Regions from separate parts of the Homo sapiens genome. Here all the other regions are linked to region 1. The links are contacts of gene promoters, found by promoter capture Hi-C in blood cells and fetal thymus (Javierre and others, 2016). All regions are on one chromosome and are shown on one strand. Each heading gives the region's core, a stretch centred on a gene start or on the middle of the fragment in contact. The rest is flanking DNA. Distances are from core to core; before and after follow the strand shown.

Evidence for each region. The method cuts DNA at HindIII sites, captures the fragments that hold promoters and counts their contacts. A CHiCAGO score of 5 or more calls a contact.
Region 2: a fragment that was not itself captured here is called in contact with the fragment with the promoter of MARCHF3 in region 1 in 5 of 17 cell types (naive B cells, M2 macrophages, M0 macrophages and 2 more); the score reaches 8.2 in naive B cells.
Region 3: a fragment that was not itself captured here is called in contact with the fragment with the promoter of MARCHF3 in region 1 in 14 of 17 cell types (neutrophils, total B cells, naive B cells and 11 more); the score reaches 19.3 in neutrophils.
Region 4: a contact is called between a fragment that was not itself captured here and the fragment with the promoter of MARCHF3 in region 1, in 7 of 17 cell types (naive B cells, M2 macrophages, megakaryocytes and 4 more). The highest score is 11.0, in naive B cells.
Region 5: a fragment that was not itself captured here is called in contact with the fragment with the promoter of MARCHF3 in region 1 in 17 of 17 cell types (total B cells, naive B cells, erythroblasts and 14 more); the score reaches 31.5 in total B cells.
Region 6: a contact is called between a fragment that was not itself captured here and the fragment with the promoter of MARCHF3 in region 1, in 2 of 17 cell types (M2 macrophages and total B cells). The highest score is 6.0, in M2 macrophages.
Region 7: a contact is called between a fragment that was not itself captured here and the fragment with the promoter of MARCHF3 in region 1, in 2 of 17 cell types (erythroblasts and total B cells). The highest score is 8.5, in erythroblasts.

What each region holds. Positions count from the first base shown.
Region 1 is chr5:127,029,191-127,031,859 of GRCh38, reverse strand. It overlaps MARCHF3 (membrane associated ring-CH-type finger 3), which reads left to right and starts at 1,302. Exons shown (of 5, transcript NM_178450.5): 1 at 1,302-1,510. It overlaps LOC105379163 (a long non-coding RNA gene), which reads right to left and starts at 517. Exons shown (of 2, transcript XR_007058920.1): 1 at 1-517. RefSeq lists an enhancer at 420-964 and a silencer at 961-1,340. The HindIII fragment of the contact is 7,560 bases long and covers 1-2,669 here.
Region 2 is chr5:127,276,157-127,278,825 of GRCh38, reverse strand. The region is part of intron 2 of LOC105379199; the gene reads left to right. It also overlaps a transcript of MEGF10 not described here. Among named protein-coding and RNA genes, the nearest start is that of MEGF10, 13 kb to the left of the region's middle. The HindIII fragment of the contact is 4,674 bases long and covers 1-2,669 here.
Region 3 is chr5:126,779,317-126,781,985 of GRCh38, reverse strand. All of the region lies in intron 1 of LMNB1 (lamin B1), which reads right to left. Among named protein-coding and RNA genes, the nearest start is that of LMNB1, 3.5 kb to the right of the region's middle. RefSeq lists enhancers at 1,711-1,800, 1,811-1,880. The HindIII fragment of the contact is 2,673 bases long and covers 1-2,630 here.
Region 4 is chr5:127,250,600-127,253,268 of GRCh38, reverse strand. It overlaps a transcript of MEGF10 not described here. Among named protein-coding and RNA genes, the nearest start is that of MEGF10, 39 kb to the left of the region's middle. The HindIII fragment of the contact is 383 bases long and covers 1,165-1,547 here.
Region 5 is chr5:126,832,709-126,835,377 of GRCh38, reverse strand. LMNB1 (lamin B1) reads right to left here. Exons shown (of 11, transcript NM_005573.4): 10 at 2,577-2,669. Among named protein-coding and RNA genes, the nearest start is that of LMNB1, 57 kb to the right of the region's middle. The HindIII fragment of the contact is 201 bases long and covers 1,229-1,429 here.
Region 6 is chr5:127,192,526-127,195,194 of GRCh38, reverse strand. No RefSeq gene overlaps it. Among named protein-coding and RNA genes, the nearest start is that of MEGF10, 97 kb to the left of the region's middle. The HindIII fragment of the contact is 1,604 bases long and covers 523-2,126 here.
Region 7 is chr5:126,888,350-126,891,018 of GRCh38, reverse strand. All of the region lies in intron 3 of MARCHF3 (membrane associated ring-CH-type finger 3), which reads left to right. Among named protein-coding and RNA genes, the nearest start is that of LMNB1, 110 kb to the right of the region's middle. The HindIII fragment of the contact is 5,941 bases long and covers 1-2,669 here.

The sequences.
Region 1 (2,669 bases), core at 53-2,552:
TGCATTCCTTCATTCTTACTAATACGGGTTAGGTGCCTACCCATGGCAAGAGCAGTTCTAGGCAGGGAGAGGCCCCTACCCACCCACAGCTGACGGTCTAGGGCTTGTTTACATTCTAGGTTTCAGCGGGAAAGCAAGAACACCCAACTCCCTGCTTTTGATTCTATGTTAGTAGCTCAGCGCGCCTGTGCGAGCACGTGCTGCAGCCAGGGTAGGGGCTCAGAAACTGGTTGACAAGATGAGCAGTGGGGTCCTAGGGGGTTGGGCGGGAAGGGCCCACAAGGCCATATTCCAGGCTGTTCGGCTGCGAGTGACCCCTGAGAGGTCGGGATCTCCGAGCTCGTCCGATGTCTCCATCCCAGCCAGGAGCTTGCGAAGGGGAAGGAGGGCGGAAGCAGAGTGGGACAGATGTGGTTCGTTCTGGGGCTTCCTGTCCACGAAGATGGATAATTCTAGCGACCCGCCTGGGATTTTGGAATCCTGGCGGACCCAAAAGACAGCAGAAGTCACCGCAGAGGATGCCACCCCGCACGGCAGCCCGCCCAGAGCGACGGTCTCACAGGTTCCGGCGCCGTCGAGCGCCCAAGCCTCCTGTTGGCCGCCAGCTGTGTCCGCGACGCGCTGGGTCGGGAGGAGGAGACCCGAGGCGCCGGTAAGTCCCCCGCTGCAGGTGGCCCGGAGGGCAGGGGTGAGGACGGGGACGTGTACTGAACTTTGGGAGGTTTGCGGGGCTGGAGTTTTGTTTCAGAGATAGCCAGATCGAGATCAGAACGTTTTCCAGAGAGCCCAGGTTTCCACTTGTGGCTGGGCGACCCGGTCCGGAATTCATCCTTTCTCGGCCCTCAGCTTCCTCCGGGCGGGGTTCCGATGGGGCAGCTAAGTTCCGCGCCTCCTGCCGGTGCCAGATACTGGCGTGTCGACCCGCGCTGCGGTTGGCTTCTTGCTCCACAGCGCTATGCGCGCGGCGGCTCCGAGGGCTCCTGGTCTCTCTCAGCCAACGGCCTTCTGGGGCCGCCGCCTCCCTCTAGAGCTGCTCGGGTCCCATTGCAGAGAGTCCCGCAGCGCCCGCCGGCAGCCACGGCACTTCGCAATAACCAACTTCCCCGCCGCCGGCGCGTCCCGCCAGCCTGCCCTCGGCCGCAGGCGACTGGACGGCGGTTACGGGGCGGTCCCAGCGCCACCACGACTGGCTGTCGGCTCCGCCAGTCATGGGCTGATGACGCCCCGGGGCTGGCTCCGCCCCTAGCGGCAGCCCCGCCTCCCCTCCAGAGCCTGGTCGGCTTAGCCCTGCTTTCCGCCTCACTCGTTGAGCAGGTCCGTGAATTGTCAGCGCGCTGTGGGCGACTGTGTGGCCGCGGCGGCCGCCAGGCTTGCCGCACTCCCCCTGAGGTGCCCGCCGGAACCAATGTGCCCTGGTCCACTGGGCCGTGAGCAGCCACCGACTGGGGGCAACTTGGCACTTAGAACCGCAGCAGGGACGTCGGTTTGCTATCGGGACTCGGCGAGGACGGTGAGTGGCCGCGCGCCGGGCTAGCGGCTCCTCTCGGCGCGGTTCGGCGGCGGCGAGAGGGGACGGGACGCGTCCTGGCGCTCGGCGGTCCGTTCGTCCGAGCGTGACCGCTGTGGGGAGGTCAGGGCTGGGCGGGATTTACTCCGTGCCAATATCCCCACTCCCGAACTTCTTCTTGTCAAAGCATCCCAACTCCGCCCGGGACGCGGTTCCAGTCCGCACCAACTTGGCGTAATTGACATGGGTAGGTGGGGCCGGGACGCGTCCCCTGCCCCTCTGCGGCAACGACATGGAGCGCTGGGGCGGCCTCCGCGCCCGCGGCGTGCGGACCGCGGTTCCTGAAAAATTACCCGCGCTGTGCGGTACGGTAAGACCCGGCGTCCGCGTCTGGATCTCAAGGCTGAGCGAGCGCTCATCGGGCTCAAGGTGGGTCTCAGCGCCAGAGAACTGGAGTACCAGCCGGGTTCTGTAGCGGGGGCTTCAGTGCTCTGCAGCTACTGAGAGGAATTGAGAGCACTGCTGGGCTTTGAACTTTCTAAAGTAATTGCTTTCTATTAGCACTTGAATCCATGACCCTCCTGAGGTGCTCGGACCTCCACATCCACCCGCAAGGGGTGTCCGAAGGACTTCGTTAGGACCAGGCGGGAGCTGCTGTCGGTTCTGGTGCCCAGTGCCTTGGAGAATCCTAGAGGCTGCGAAAGGGATTGCCAGCCTGGTCGGTTGGTGTTTGTTTGAGCACCTGCGTGTTTAAGTGATGAAGTTGAGTCAGGAATTGACAGCAGAGAACTCAAGGTTAAACCTGACACTCCGTTTGTGACTCGGTCTGGGTTAGATTGTTTTCCCCCCTTAATGGTAAGGGGGTAAAAGCAGCTTGTTTTTCTGAGACCAACTACATGCATGTAGTTTATATTATGTGCGGAATAAACAGAATTCAATACGATATTTTCTTACAATTCTTATTTGACATGAATAAGAGCTTTTGAAAATACTAGACAGAAACAGGTCCAGAATTTGGGGATGTTTAGACCTTTGAAAATACATGAAAATGTTGAGATATATAGTTCTGTATGTGTATATGAAGATGTAGATGCGCATATACACACATACATACGTGTATATGTGTGAGTGTGTGTATATATAAAATTAAAAGGTGAATGAG
Region 2 (2,669 bases), core at 111-2,610, 250 kb before region 1:
CTCATCTTTCATCTTCACTGTCAGTTGAAGACCTTGCTTCTCATTTCCCTATTTCACTGAGAAAACTGAAGCAATTAGAGAAGAATCTCCACAAACTTCTGCAACTACAGCTGGTCATCCACCTTCATGTCTGGTCGTGTGCTTTGTCTTCCCTCCTGATGAATTGACCACACTCTCATTTAAGGCTGTCCTCCTCACTTATGCACTAAATTCTTTCCCTTGGGCCTCCCAAATGACGTGGATTTCTCCCTGTCTTTCCTGCATTATTAATTCTCTCCTCTCAACAAGAGTATTCCCATCAGCATTCACAAATATTTCTTCCACTTAAAAAAAGAACTCTGTTTGGTTCTCCTCCTACAGCTATTCTCTTCACTGTAAACTCCTTGAATTAAATTTCTAAACTTAGTATCATATATTTTCCTTCTATTCTCTCTTAAATCTCCTCTAATCAGGGTTTTGGCCCCAACCCTCAATTTAATACTGCTCTCTTTTTTTTTTCAAGGTAATCAAATGAGATCCAATTTGCTGAAACCAATTGTCAGAAACATTTTTCTCTTCCCTTCATTGAATATCTTCCTTGACTTGATATCCTGGATACCAGACTTTTTATAGTTTTCCCTTTTTCTCTCTGGTGGCTCCTTCTGTGTTACCTTTGTTGGTTTCTTCACATCTTTCCAACCTCTAAATTTTGAAGTGCCCAGGTCTCAGTCATTGGATCACTTTTCTTTTCTAGCTACAATAACTCCATAAACTATCTCATTCAGGCTCAGAACTATAAATACCATTCCTTTACTGACCACTCCTAAATATAGATCTTCAGGCTTGACCTCTGCCCAGCTGCCTCCTGGACATCACCACTTGGTTCACAGATGTGCATCTCAAAATTAATATGTTCAAAACCCAACTCCTAATTTTCCCCCAACAGTCTGCCCTTCCCAAATTCATCCTTGTCATCTCCATCTCAGCAAATGGCATCTTTTTCCTTTCATTTGCTTATATCAAAAACCTTGGTGTCATCCTTGAGCTGCTCTTTCTCTCACACCCTCCATTCAAACTATAAGCAAATTCTGTAGGCTCTACCTTCAAAATACATTCACCAACCTACTCCAGACCTTCATCATTACCCCTGAATTAATGCAGTGGTCTCTTTATTGTTCTCCCTGTTTCTGACCTTAACCCTCCACCAACCACTCCCAGTGCCACAGCTAAAGTTATCTTGTTAAAACATAAGTTAGATCATGTTTCTCTCTTACTCTAGCCCCCATGTTCTCCCATCTTAGAGTCAAAGTGTTCACAGTGCCTCTGTTTCAAGTCTTGTTCTCCAGAAAATGGACTCTGAGATGGAGATTTGTAAGCAGGAGGTTTCTTGGGTTTGCTCTCAGGAGTAACACTTGTAAGGAAGTGAGGAAAGCAGAATTCGGCAGAAGGACCAGTGGACTGTGATACAGTTACAATAGGCCCACAGAGCTGGCCTGAATTGAGGCAAGAGCACCCAACTCCTATACTCCCTCAATGACAGTCTTTGGATGTGGTCTGCTCCCAGGAGAGAGCATAACCTTGCAAATGAAGTTCTTTTCTGTTGAAGGCAATTCCAGATGAGGAACTGAGCTAGGAGCCATCTACATCCAAAAACTCTTGCACCTGGGGAAATGAGTGCCTTGGTCCTGAAGCGCACATGGTATCCACTACTCTCAGTGCTTCTTGGTTTTATCTTCTGCTCTCCTCTTGCTCTATACTTCAGATACTTTGCTCTCCTCTTGCTCTATACTTCAGATACTTTGGTCCCCTTGCTTTTATTCAAATACACCAGACTGACTTCTACCTTAGAGCCCTTGCAGTTCCCTCTGCCTGGAATGTGTGGCTTGCTCCCTGATCTCCTACACATCTTACTCAAATTTCATCTTCTCAATGAGCCTTCTTATTCAGTATTGTAGCCCATCACCCCTTCCCCAACACACCTGATCCCCTTTACCATGCTCTACCTTTTCTTTTTTAATACCACTTTTCACCTTCTACTATCCTATATAATTTACTTATTCATTATGTTTATTGTTTGCTATGTCTTTCTCCCACTAAAATAAAAACTTCTTAATCTTTGCCTATTTTGTGTACTGATGTATCTCAAGCATGAAGAGATGTCCTCATGCATAGCAATTCTCAAATATAATGAATATATTTTAAACAAAAGTTTTATAACTCAGTAGAGGATTTTTGTTTTCCACTTGGAAATTATCTTTCCTAAGTAGGAAATTCTTTTTAACATCACAGTCTTCTGAATATGAATTTATTAAGTCACTTAATCCATTTGCCCAAACCACAGAGTTGCCCAAACACAGCTCTCAGTTGAAGCAGGCTTATCTCTCAGATTATAATAATTATCTCACTCCTGCTATAAAAGTAAAGGAAGGGAGGAGAAGCTGCACATAATGAATTAATTAATCAAGGCTTTAATTTTTCTTTAAACCCAGGGAATTCATATTAGCCTGCCTTGTTATTTACCCAACTACCCTCTGGGATATTAATACTATATCCTACGGTTTACAGCCTTAAATGGTCATGATGTGTTTACACAGGTGAAGAGCAAGTGCTCTGGCAGAGCCTTTCCTTACATTTCTTGTACATTAATTTACCTCGGAGTCTTCACACTCTGGAATGTCACTGACATGAAA
Region 3 (2,669 bases), core at 45-2,544, 250 kb after region 1:
TACCTTACATATGAGGTCTGTTTTCTATGGATTCAGACACCACCTGCATGGAAACTGTTGCCAAATTCTCTTTAGACCAAGCATTTCCATGCTCTGCCTCTAAGGTATCTTGTTTGCTGAGGAACCAAAAAGAAACTAAGTAACCTGGAATCTATAATTCTCTCAAAGCTGTTTTCTTAATCTAAATCTACCTAAATGATGATTATACTTAATTACAAACACTCTAGTTCCAAATAAAAAATTAAATATAGGCCAGGCATGGTGGCTCACGCCTATAATCCCAGCACCTTGGGAGGCCGAGGTGGGTGGATCACCTGAGGTCAGGAGTTGGAGACCAGCCTGGCCAACACGGTGAAACCCCGTCTCTACTAAAAATACAAAATTAGCCGGGTGTGGTGGTGCACACCTGTAATCCCAGCTACTTGGGAGGCTGGGTCAAGAGCATCGCTTGAACCTGGGAGGCGGAGGTTGCAGTGAGCCAAGCTCCGTCTCAAAAAAAAAAGAAAGACATTAACAACCCTAGATGCCAGAAGACAATAGGGCAAAATAATACTTTCCAAGTTCTGGAAAAATGTTAACCTAGTATTCTATACCTAGCCCAAAGCTATTTTCAGACATACAGGACTCAGAAAGTTTACCTCCTGCCATCCTTTCTGAATAAATTACTTAAGGATGTTCTTCAACAAAATATGAAGAAACCAAGGAAAAGGAAAATACACCCAGGATGGAGTGCGGTGGTGTGATCTCAGCTCACTGCAACCTCCGCCTCCCCGGTTCAAGCAATGCCTCCTGCCTCAGCCTCCACAGTAACTGGGATTGCAGGCGTCCACTACCACACGCGGCTAATTTGTGTATTTTTAGTAGAGACGGGGTCTCGCCATGTTGGACAGGCTAGTCTTGAACTCCTGACTTCAGGTGATCCACCTGCCTAGGCCTCTCAAAGTGCTTTACAGGTGTGAGCCACCGTGCCTGGCCAGGAAGCTGTCTTTAATAAGTTACAGGACATCAGTACACAGCCTACCTTAAGCAAAGAGAACTCTAGGGAAGAAAGCAGATTCATGTGATAGATATTATGATTAAATATCTTCAAAAAGTCTGCAAACACACTGAGGGCAAATTTTTCTTAACAAGAAAAATGAAAAGCTATTGAGGAATAAATCCATATAAAAAAAGTCCTAATTCAAATAAGGAGCAAACTAAAATGTGGCATGTTTTGAGCAAATGATGGTATGTTGGGGGGAAAAGAAGAGTCATCTAATCCTGGCAATAGGAATATACATACAGTAGCACAGACTTAAGAAAAATATAATCCCAGAACACTACTAACCCTCAGAGAATAGGTACTGTCAACTCCTCAGACAGGCCTTCCTTAATCACACTAACCCTTCACTCCGCTTTATTTTTATTCCCTTAGCATCTGCTATTACCTAAATTGTATCACATGCATTATTTCATTGATTCTAATACACATTATTCTCATTTTTTAACCCCGCTGAAACCAGCATGCATTTTAGAATCGATACATTTACAACTACTGTCAGCCAGGTGGCAGCCTTGTTACTGTGTGAAAAACCTCCTGTGGCTAACTCCTGGAAAGATTACAAAAGCGCCAGCATCAAAATGCTTCACATCAGACAAAAGACAATCTTTCTTTACTTGCTGGGATATAGCTCCCCCACTACACTCTCAGCAACAAAGAACAGTAATTCATTTTTTTAAAAAAATCTTCATATCCTCTAACATAGAACGGTGACTGGTACGCAACAGATATTTGATCTGTGTTAATTTTTTTTTTTAGACGGAGTCTCACTCTGTCACCCAGGCTGGAGTGCAGTGGACCATCTGGCTCACTGCAGCCTCTGCCTCCTGGATATCAAGCGATTCTCCTGCCTCAGCCTCCCCAGTAGCTGGGATTACAGACGCCCGCCACCACGCCCGGATTTTTTTTCTTTTTTGAGATGGGGTCTCACTCTGTCGCCAGGCTGGGGTGCAATGGCGCAATCTCAGCTCACTGCAATATCCGCCTCCTGGGTTCAAGCGATTCTCCTGCCTCAGCCTCCCAAGTAGCTGAGACTACAGATGCATGCCACCACGTCTGGATAATTTTTTGTATTTTTAGTAGAGACGGGGTTTCACCTTGTTAGCCAGGATGGCCTCGATCTCCTGACCTCGTGATCCGCCCGCCTCGGCCTCCCAAAGTGCTGGGATTACAGGCGTGAGCCCCCGCGTCCGGCCAATTTTTGTATTTTTAGTAGAGACGGGGTTTCACCATATTGGTCAGGCTGGTCTCGAACTCCTGACCTCAAGTGATCCGCTCACCTCGCCTCCCAAAGCGCTGGGATTACAGGCGTGAGCCACCACGCCCGGCCCTGTTTGACATTTTAATATCTATGAAACCCATCATGATGGGTCCAACAGGATGGATCCTACACAGTTGGTCCTGATGTTTTTATTTTCTTAGTGGTACACATAATAATGGCAAGTCTTACAAGCAACGATATCTAAGATTTGAAGGAATTCAGTGGCAAAAAATTTGGAGGAACATAGAAATAATAGTGTGAGTTAACTGACTGCTCATTTTAAAAGATGAAACCAAGGCTTAGTAAATCCAAGAAAGGGAAATACAAGCTTAGTATTATTTTCGAGTTGTATAACTAAATATCCAAAGA
Region 4 (2,669 bases), core at 107-2,606, 220 kb before region 1:
TCATATTTGTATTTGCCTCTATACCAGAATTTAGAATAATCCCTGGCTCAATAAATTTTTTTTAAACAAATAGATCAATAGGTGGAAAAGTCACCTCTAGACAATCACATGCTTTGTCTCTTTTAACCTATGAAAAGCATTAATATTTGTCAAAGTGTTAAATCACTTTTGCATTTTTAGAAGAAACAGTACTTCGTTATTAACTGGATTTTTCAGCACTTTATTTTAAATGTTTGTATCCGTGTTTATGAGTATGAATTGTAGTGTTGTGTTATCCCTATGTTATCTTTGTCAAATTTGGCTTCATGATTATGCTAGCCATATTAAATGAATTAAAATTCATCACTCTGTCTCAAAAAAAAAATTCATGTCTTTGCGCTGAAACAGTGCTAAAGTCATAGGAATTAGATATTAAGAGCATTTGTCAAGAAAACAACCTGCCTCCTGGTCTTTCTTTGAGATCTTCAGTAGCTATTCTTCTATTATGTTTCATTGTCCTTTATTATACAAGATGTGTATAAGTGGACTTTCATCATAGAAAGTTAAAACTATACCTAATTGAAAAGACTAAAAATGCAGTCTGTCTCTCTCACCCTATCCCACCCATCCCCAGAGTTAACCACAATTAACAATTTAGTACTTTTATTTTCATTATTTTTCCTACACCCTCACATATTTATATGTAAACACAACGTGCAAGTATATGTGCATTAATACATGTGTAAAGAATAAATAGAGCTATTCTGAAACTACTCTTTCACTTATTCCTTGAAAAGCTTTTCACATATATATTATAAATGATATGAAACTATATGTACTTCATCCTTTTTAATAGCTGCATAGTATTCAACATTATGGCTTTACCATACACTCTTTAACTACTCTTCTACTATGAGTATTTGGATGTTTCCCTCTTTTCACTATCATGAACAAACCTGCCATGATCATTCTTGTACATAGACTTTTAGGCCCACTGCATGCAAAATATTCTTCAGAATAAGATCATAAATGTGGAATAACTAAGTAAAAAAAAAAGGCAGTTTTAATCTTAATAGATAGTAAAAAAATTTTCTCCAAAAAGATTTTGTCTTCTTATCCTCCTACCAATAAGGTATCATTGTGTTAATCTATCATATCCTTACTAACCCTGGGTATTATAAAGCTTCTATAATTTTGTTAATCTGATTAGTGAAAATTGATTAAAATGTATCACATTAATTTACATTTATCTGATTACCAATGAGGTTGAATATTTTGTAGGGTTTATTGAACATTTGTATTTCTTTTTCTATAAATTGCTTTTTAATATCCATCATTCATTTTTCTATTGGAGGGATTGTTATTTTCCTATTGATGCTTACTGATATTAATCCTTTGCTAATATAATGCAAATATATATCCAGGCTGAAGGTTGTCTATTATGTTACTACGTCTTTTGCATGCAGAAGTTTCCTTTTAAATTTTAATGTATTTAAATATTTGATTATTTTCCTTTATGGTTTTAATGTTTTATATCTTACTTCGATAGGCTTTCTTTACCCCAAGCTTATATTTTTTCTGCAGCTATGTCTAGTACTTTTATGTTTGGCTTTTTGGGTATGGTTTAAGGCATATGTCTAAATGTATTTCTTTCAAAATGGATAACCAATCACCCCTAACTGTATTGCTTTGAAAATGGATAACCAAGCTTCACCCTAATTTGTAAAGTAATTCATTTTCCTACTTAATTGTTTGCCATTTTTATTATTAATAGCAGCAAGCACTTACGTAGTTCTGACCACATTTCAGGCACTCTTCTAAGTGCTTTCTGTATATTAATGTATTTAATCTTCACAACAACCATAAGACGTAGGTAGTATAATGATCCCTCTTTTACGCATAAGGAAACCAAGGCACAAAGAGTTTAAGTAACTTCAAGAACGCACAGCTACTGTGTGGCCTGGCTTGAGATCCAGTGCTCTTTACTATACTAAACCCTGATGTGCATACTGCTCCTCCTAGATTCCATCCAATCTTATTAACCAATATCTCTGCCTATACCTGCGCAAACCCTATACTTTTATATTTTCAAATTTGTTTTAATTTTTGAAAGACAAGTTTCCCTCATTTTTTCTTCTAGGAGTTTTCCAGGTTACTTGCTATTTTGTCTACCATTTGACCAATAAAATAGCATGTTAAGTTTCATAAATAATGATTAGGATTGCATTACATTTCTAAATTAACTTGAGGAGGACTGATATCTCAACAAAAATTGTCTTCTGTTTAGAAAAGTCCTGCATATCTGCATTATTGGATTTTTTTCTATATTTTACAGTTTTCAACATATGAATCTTACAACTGTTAGGGTTTTTTATTATTATTGTAAATAGGTTTTTTTCTCTGTTTCATTCTTTAGTATATTATTGATAATATATAGGAAAGCATTGATTTTTTTCTATGTTAATTTTGTATCTGTCGTACTGAATTTTACTGATTCTAATAATTTTTTCAGATAATTCCTTGGATTTGCATGGCAATCTTTAGTTTCCAAATAATTATATCTGTGTCTTTTCTTTATAATATTTATGTGTCATGTTATTCTTTTTTGGTCTGTATATATTTGCATTGGTTAGAGTTAGGACCTCTATTACAAGGTTAAAAGACAACAGTTCTGGCAGCAAGTTTATCTT
Region 5 (2,669 bases), core at 80-2,579, 200 kb after region 1:
GACTTGTGACTCACCACTGATTGAACTAAAACTGGTTTTTTGAAGGTCACCAAAATATTTCTAATCAATTCAAAAGGCGATTGGATTCATCCTCAAATATGAAGTTCAAACGCCTGTTCTGCCCTTCCATCTTCCCTCTTATGAACCTTGGTATCATTAGTTTCTGTGATCACAAAAGCTAAAAACCTCATACATCTTTATTTTTTTTCTTCTCTCACCCTCAAGTTTAGTCACTAAGCCTTAATAAATTTCCATTATATATTCCCTCACTGCCTCTGGAATCTCCTCTCTAGAGTTAGTCCCTCTGATTCAGCTTGGCCAGTGATATTTTAAAATGCAGTCTTAACTTCTCCTTTGTTCCAAATTGTACAGAAGCTACATCCCTAAGCATTCCAGACTATGTCAGTTTAATTCCAATCTTTCAACTTCATTTAACTCTCACATGAACCCTACAAAATAACTGGATGAGCGGATATAGTTGGTGCATTAAGTCTTTTTTTATGAGGCAGAGTCTCACTCTGTCACCCAAGCTGGAGTGCAGTGGCGCCATCTCAGCTCACTGCAAGCTCCGCCTCCCGGGTTCACGCCATTCTCCTGCCTCAGCCTCCCGAGTAGCTGGGACTACAGGCTCCCGCCACCACGCCCGGCTAATTTTTTGTATTTTTAGTAGAGACGGGGTTTCACCGTGTTAGCCAGGATGGTCTCGATCTCCTGACCTTGTGATCTGCCTGCCTCCCAAACTGCTGGGATTACAGGCGTAAGCCACCGTGCCCGGCCACATTCTTTACACATCCTCTGTAGTGAGTTAAAGATCACCATGAATTCTTTGCCATTCCTCCCACCAACAGGTGGAGACTATTTACCCCCACTTTGAATCTGGACTGGCCTCATGACTTTGACTAAGAGAATGTTACAAAGGGCCCTTTAAGAAACCTGGTACTCTCTTGAGATTGAGATTGTCGTGGCCAACATGGTGAAACTCCATCTCTACTACAATATAAAAAATTAGCCAGGCGTGGTGGCGCATGCCTGTAATCCCAGCTACTTGGGAGACTGAGGCAGGGGTATCTCTTGAACCTGGGAGGTGGAGGTTGCGGTGAGCTGAGATTGCGCCACTGCGCTCCAGCCTGGCGACACAGCAAGACTCTATCTCAAAAAAAAAAAAGAAAAAAGAAAGAAACCTGTACCCTCCACTTACTCTGTTAGACAATTGCCATGCTATAAAGCTTTGACTAAACTCTTAAATCATAGAAATCCACACAGAAAGAGACCTAAAAGATATTCCAGCCGAGGCCAACCTCTGAGCTGAACACAGCCTGCTCGATTGAGTTCAGTCTGCAGCATGTGGAACAGAAACACTGCCCAGCTGAGCCCAGTCAAACCACAGAATTATGGGAAGTAAGAAATCACTGTTTTAAGCCACTAAGCTTTGGGGTGGTCTGTTAGTGAAGCAATGGTGAATTCCAACATCCTCAGAGCACCATCATCTGCCTTCTCTCCAATAACCAAATAATCACCCATCCTTCAAATTAGTGGACAAGCATCACCTCACAGAGTTCTTCTCAACTACTCTGCTGGCCTGGAGTACCTCCTCTAGCATCTGACATGCTATATAACTCATGCTGACCCTCTTGTCTGGTGCCTTGAGTTATCTCTTACATAATTATTTTACTTCTAGTAATTACGATGGTTCCCATTGAAGCACAGAAAATGGAACTTGTGCTTGTTTCTTGTAAGTTAAGTGTAACATATGTGTTTTAAAATATTCCTCCAAAATGTATGAGAAGGCATCCAGGTAAAAAATTCATGCTACTTCATGCAACCCACCTCAAGTGGTTCTCAACCCTGGGGGTTAAATATATGAGACAGTGTTTATTTAGACCAGGACTAGGGCTAATGAAGCAAAGCAGACTTAAGACTAAAAATCTGGAGCCATGGAAACAAAGTCTTATCAGGATAAGGGTAGACACTTTGATTAATGATCGGACTCAAACAGCTTGAGAATATAAACTGAAGGCTCATTAGTTATTAATAATTCCAATTTAATTATAATTAAAACCAAATTTGGAGTTTCTTTATTTCAAGGGCTCTCAAAAGCCCAACCATCAGCCAAAATCTATCTTCAATTAGATAATGATTAGGAACTTAATACAGCAAGAATTTTGTTTCACACTGAAGTTGAATATTACTTTGTTTTTTTAAAGTTTATATGCAGATTCTTGCTCTAAATTAGTGATCTAAACCTTTTAATCATAGGACCCTACAGAGTAAACAAGTTTGGAGTAAACATCCAATCCATAGACATGTTTTACTGTAACACATAATGCACATTAGAAAACAAAGGACAAAACTGAAACTTGGTACAATGAGAAAAAATAAAAATAAAAGTGCCAACATATTCTTCCAGTACCCTAAAGTATCACCTTGAATATCCCTTTGGGGAGTACAAACCCCACTTGGTAGATAACTGCGCTGGTTCATCAACTGATAGGGGAAAAACCCAACCACACTCTTGGTCTTCATGTAATTCTGTGAATAAAATTTGAAATAAATATATTAAATAAATAAAGTAATACCTGCTGGTGGAAAAGTTCTTCCTCAACAACCACTCCAGCTGCTTCTTCCTCCTCCTCCTCTTCTTCAGGTATGGTTGTTTTAAAGACTGTACT
Region 6 (2,669 bases), core at 75-2,574, 160 kb before region 1:
TTTGTATTTGTCCATATATTTACCTCTACCAATGAGTTTCATACTTTCTTATGCTATCATACTTCTATTTGGCATCCTTTCATTTCAACTTTAAGAACTCCCTTTAGCATTTCTTGTAAGGCATGTCTGGTGGTGATAAACTTCCTCAGCTCTTGTTTACCCCTGGAAAAGCTGTCTTCACCAGACAAACAAAAGCTGAGGATTTCCATCACACAGGTAATTTGTCTACGAGTTGTTGCTGGATTGATGTGTTTGTAGGAGAAGACGGGTCCAGGGCTTCCTACTCCACAATCTTGCTGACATCAGTTACTGTATATAGGTTTCTGAACAGCAGAAATATTGAAGGAAAAAGAAATATTCTCTCCAAGAAATAAAAAGGAAAAAAATGGAATTAGGTTAAGTAGAAATAGCTTAAAGTTAATGCTTATATAATCATTATACCCAGGTTAAATTATCATTCATATTAAGAAAATCAATATTTACTTTTCAAAATAAAACAGTATGTTTGAAACGGAGAAAGCTTGTTTAGTTGACCATAAATTTTTCTTGATATGCAATGCTATCCAGCTTCTCTTTCTTTTCCTCACTCCCTCCATGATTTTCTCCTCCATAAGGCCAACAAGAAAAACAAAAAGGAAAATAAGAATATGCCACAGCTATGCTTTCCCAGTAAGGCTATGCTGGTTTTATTTGCATGGGTTTATAGTGAATGTTCCAATAATCAAATCAGAGTGCAGGCTTTCAAAATCTTTCATTTCTAAACTCTGAGCAGAGTAGTACATCAGTTAATAAAAGAAGAGCCTTTTTAAAAATTGCACAGTACATTTTAGTTTATAAAATACTTTTATATTTTCTCATTTCAACCTCAAACCAACTCAATTTAAATAGCTACTTCAAGTGTTCATTTCTAGCTTTTTCCTGCATGGAATTCATTCCTTTATTTCTTTTGGTAATAGACCTCTCAATTTTCCTTTGATGAGGCACCTCCCTGCCCTTTGCAGATAATTTGGGTGAGACTGACTTTATTCCATCCCCACATCTAAGTCTGGATATGTTTCTCAGGCTTGGGCAATCAGTGTAGTCCACTTTCTTGGCCACGGTGATTGTTGAGAGACAAATACATGACTTAAGTCAGTCCCATAGACTAAATTATGGGATTTTCCCAAAGTAGATACAAGAGGCAGGTCACAGAAAGAAAGTAAGAAGGTGCTAAAGACTACTGTGATCAAATCTACCATTTTTCCAGGAGCCAGTACTCTGGACTTTGGGCCTACCCAGGGTAACCAGCCATTTCAGTTGGCTTTGCACTGAGGTGTCTCTTAGGAACGCTTAAACCAGGAAAGCCCTGGACAAACTGGGATAAATTGTTTACTCTACCAGTCACCACAGTGCCACGTAAAGTAAGAGCTTCACAGCCTGGAAGGGAGATCAAAATGTTTCTTCCTTACCAAGGAAGACCAATGGTTATCACCCTCCCCTACTCCAAGAGAATAAGTATCCAAAGTGCCAGGCAACAATTTTAGAGAAAATGAATCTAGCAGTGACCATTTCCCTTATTCTATTCAATCCTTAAATGTTTAACCAAAAAAAAAAAAAATCTAAGATCATTTTTTAACAGCCTCATTTTTCAATTATCAAGTGCTAAATTAAAATGGAATGCAAACACTAAAATTTAACACACTGCTAAAAATGTACATGTCTAAAATATTAATAGCAACTCTAAATGATTTATAATGCCCTCTTGGGCATATTTTATGATTTATTGATGTCATTTTAGTGGCTCTATGGGCGACAGAGTCACCTCACTGTGTGTGTGCTCCGGCGGGTTTCTGGGCTTGTTACTCAGTAAACTACACACTCAGACCTTTGCCGCATGCACATGAGATGATAGGTGAAGTAGAAAAAGTAAAGATGTTAAATTTTTCCATAAATCAAAGAATCCTAGGGCTAAAAGGCTTTAAAAGTGGTTATTTCTTGTTTTCTCAACTTCATGCAGGGCCACACTGGGGCTATCTTCAATGGTTGTGAATTTCACAACCTCCCTTGTTGATTTATGATATCAGTCTTTGTCGACAAGAAATGCTACTTTGGAGCTAATGTTTACCCTTTCTGTATCAAGTAAAGCTTGTTTTCTGGAGAATAGCTCATAACATTTTTGGTAGTTAACTTCCTGTCTTTGACCTAATCATGCATTTTTCAAATCCTTCTGTTCATCCCACAGACATGATTGCTCTGCCCTCCACGCTATGATTTGCTTCTAGTTTCTCTGCAAGCTTCCTAGGACTCTCTCAGATTCTGCTACTCAAAATTTGCTCTCAATGAAATTGGGTTTGTCTTTTTCTTCTTCCCTGGACACTGTCCTCCATCTCTCAGCTGTTTCTCCCTTCCCAGAAACCTAAAGCTCTGATTCTGCCCTCTGGACAAACAGACCTTCTTTCCTTTCATCTTCCTTCCACTGTCAGCCACACACACCCAAGCAGTAGCCACACAGGCCTATGCTTCTGGGAAACTGCCCATGCTCAAAGTTACTATTCCATAGTGGGTGCAGTGGCACATATCTGTAGTGCCAGCTACTTGGGAGCCTGAGACAGTAGGATCTCTTGAGCACAGGAGTTCGAGGCTATATTGTGCTATGACCACACCTGAGAAGAGTCACTGCACTCCAGCCT
Region 7 (2,669 bases), core at 82-2,581, 140 kb after region 1:
AATCAAAACCACAATGAGATACCATCTCACACCAGTTAGAATGGCGATCATTAAAAAGTCAGGAAACAACAGGTGCTGGAGAGGATGTGGAGAAATAGGAACACTTTTACACTGTTGGTGGGACTGTAAACTAGTTCAACCATTGTGGAAGTCAGTGTGGCGATTCCTCAGAGATCTAGAACTAGAAATACCATTTGACCCAGCCATCCCATTACTGGGTATATACCCAAAGGACTATAAATCATGCTGCTATAAAGACACATGCACATGTATGTTTATTGCGGCATTATTCACAATAGCAAAGACTTGGAACCCACCCAAATGTCCAACAATGATAGACTGGATTAAGAAAATGTGGCACATATACACCATGGAATACTATGCAGCCATAAAAAATGATGAGTTCATGCCCTTTGTAGGGACATGGATGAAACTGGAAAACTTCATTCTCAGTAAACTATCGCAAGAACAAAAAACCAAACACTGCATATTCTCACTCATAGGTGGGGATTGAACAATGAGATCACATGGACACAGGAAGGGGAATATCACAGTCTGGGGACTGTTGTGGGGTGGGGGGAGGGGGGAGGGATAGCATTGGGAGATATACCTAATGCTAGATGACGAGTTAGTGGGTGCAGTGCACCAGCATGGCACATGTATACATATGTAACTAACCTGCACAATGTGCACATGTACCCTAAAACTTAAAGTATAATAATAAAAAAGAAAACATACCATTACCTCAAAAAAAAAAAAAGTATGTCTTTTCTGAAGACAAGTCTGTGAGTTTTATAGCAAAGTGATCTACAAACATTAAACATAATCAAAGGAAGTAAGACCAGCAAAATAGAGAACATTGCCCTCTGCTCAGATAACACAGCGAGGTGTCTTCACCTGGTAATCTGATATTCTGGGCCCCATACCCAGTGAAAGATATCCAAAAAGTCCAGGGGAGTGGTTAACACAGATGCCTGCACAGAAAGTGAGAGATATGAGGATGCTACTAATCTAGATGTGAGGATGCTACTAATCTAGATGTGAGGATGCTACTGAGGGACATGTCTGAAATCTTGAAAATCATGAACAGCTTAGACAATGTGAACAGGGAGTGCCTCACACATTCCAAATTACTTAAATGGTGGTGGGATCCCTTTGAAATTCAAAGACAGAGTTTAGAACAAAAATAAGGAGATACCACCTCCATCGTGGTGCATGAACTTAAGCCGCTGCCTCAAGTGGAGCCTTGAATGATTCCTAATCCATTAGGTGCTAGGATGTATCTAATGTCAGCCAAGTCAGCCAGGCCCTCGTAAATATGTGGGGCCCTTTTAGGCAGCAAAACATTGGACTATAGGGACTGCAAATCCAAGAGTTCCTCTGTTTTCATGGTCCTTCTATTTGGAAGAAATTTCCCCTTTTTCAAAGTGTTCCCATTCTTGCTTACTTTGGGAGCATGTGGTGACATTGTCTGCTCTGTCGTCTGTTTTCCGTGTGCATTGTATTTCCTTGAAATCCCTCCACCATACTCTGCTTGGATAGTTTTCTTACTCACATTCTCACTACACCTGAGGGACACAGATATGTAAGTGTAGTACCATTTTGAAAACCTGGTTTTGAATGTTATTTTTTCCTCTCTATTCCTTCAAACATCCCTATTATCAAAATAGGAATTTATTGTTCATATTCATGTTATTTATCGTATTCTCATCTTTTGTCTGGTGCTCCAGTGGGGGCTCTTATTTGGTACACTGTCCTGGTACAGTGTATCCCATGATCATGTACTTCTGCTGGAAGTAATTATTCAAATGTTCAGAAACCCAGACTCCAACAGCAGTCCAACGGAGTGGTCATTAGACACCAGTAACCTTCCAGTCTGGGGGCCAGTAAGAATTAAAATGAAGCAAGATCAGGGGAATGAGAGCTGCTATTTGTGTTTAAAAAGACCATACAGGGCCAGCCACAGTGGCTCACACCTGTAATCCCAGCACTTTGGGAGGCCAAGGCGGGTGGATCACTTGAAGTCAGGAGTTCAAGAACAGCCTGGCCAACATGGCAAAACCCCATCTCTACTAAAAGTACAAAAATTACCCGGGCGTGGTGGTGCATGTGTGTAATCTCAGATACTCAGGAGGCTGAGGCACGAGAATAGCTTGAACCTGGGAGGTGGAGGTTGCAGTGAGCCAAGATTGTGCCACTGCACTCCAGCCTGGGTGACAGAGCGAGACTCCATCTCAAAAAAAGAAAAACCACACAGTATGAATTTATTGTTCCCAAAATAAATAATATCTACTTTTGGCACTATGCATTTTATCAATTTATTCTAAAAACTTCTGTTTCCTTGCTCTCCATTCTGTCTTGGTTATCTCATGTTTCTTGCTTTACATTGATCAGATATGCCACATAATTCTGAAGTATCTTCTCATATTTCAGATAAGCAATCTCCATTTGGCTGTGATCACTCCTATGCTGTAATGATCTAAAATAATTAGAGATTATTTTTATTTTGTGTATGTCTGAAGTTACAAGTGAATATATAAAATGATTTGCCATCTAATCCTGTTGTGCCACTGATCTAATCCTTGGAAAAATAAACCATTGGTGTGAGTGTGTGTAGCATTTGTTTAAATAATGTCAGAGCCAAATTACAATGTCCCAGGCATAAGCAT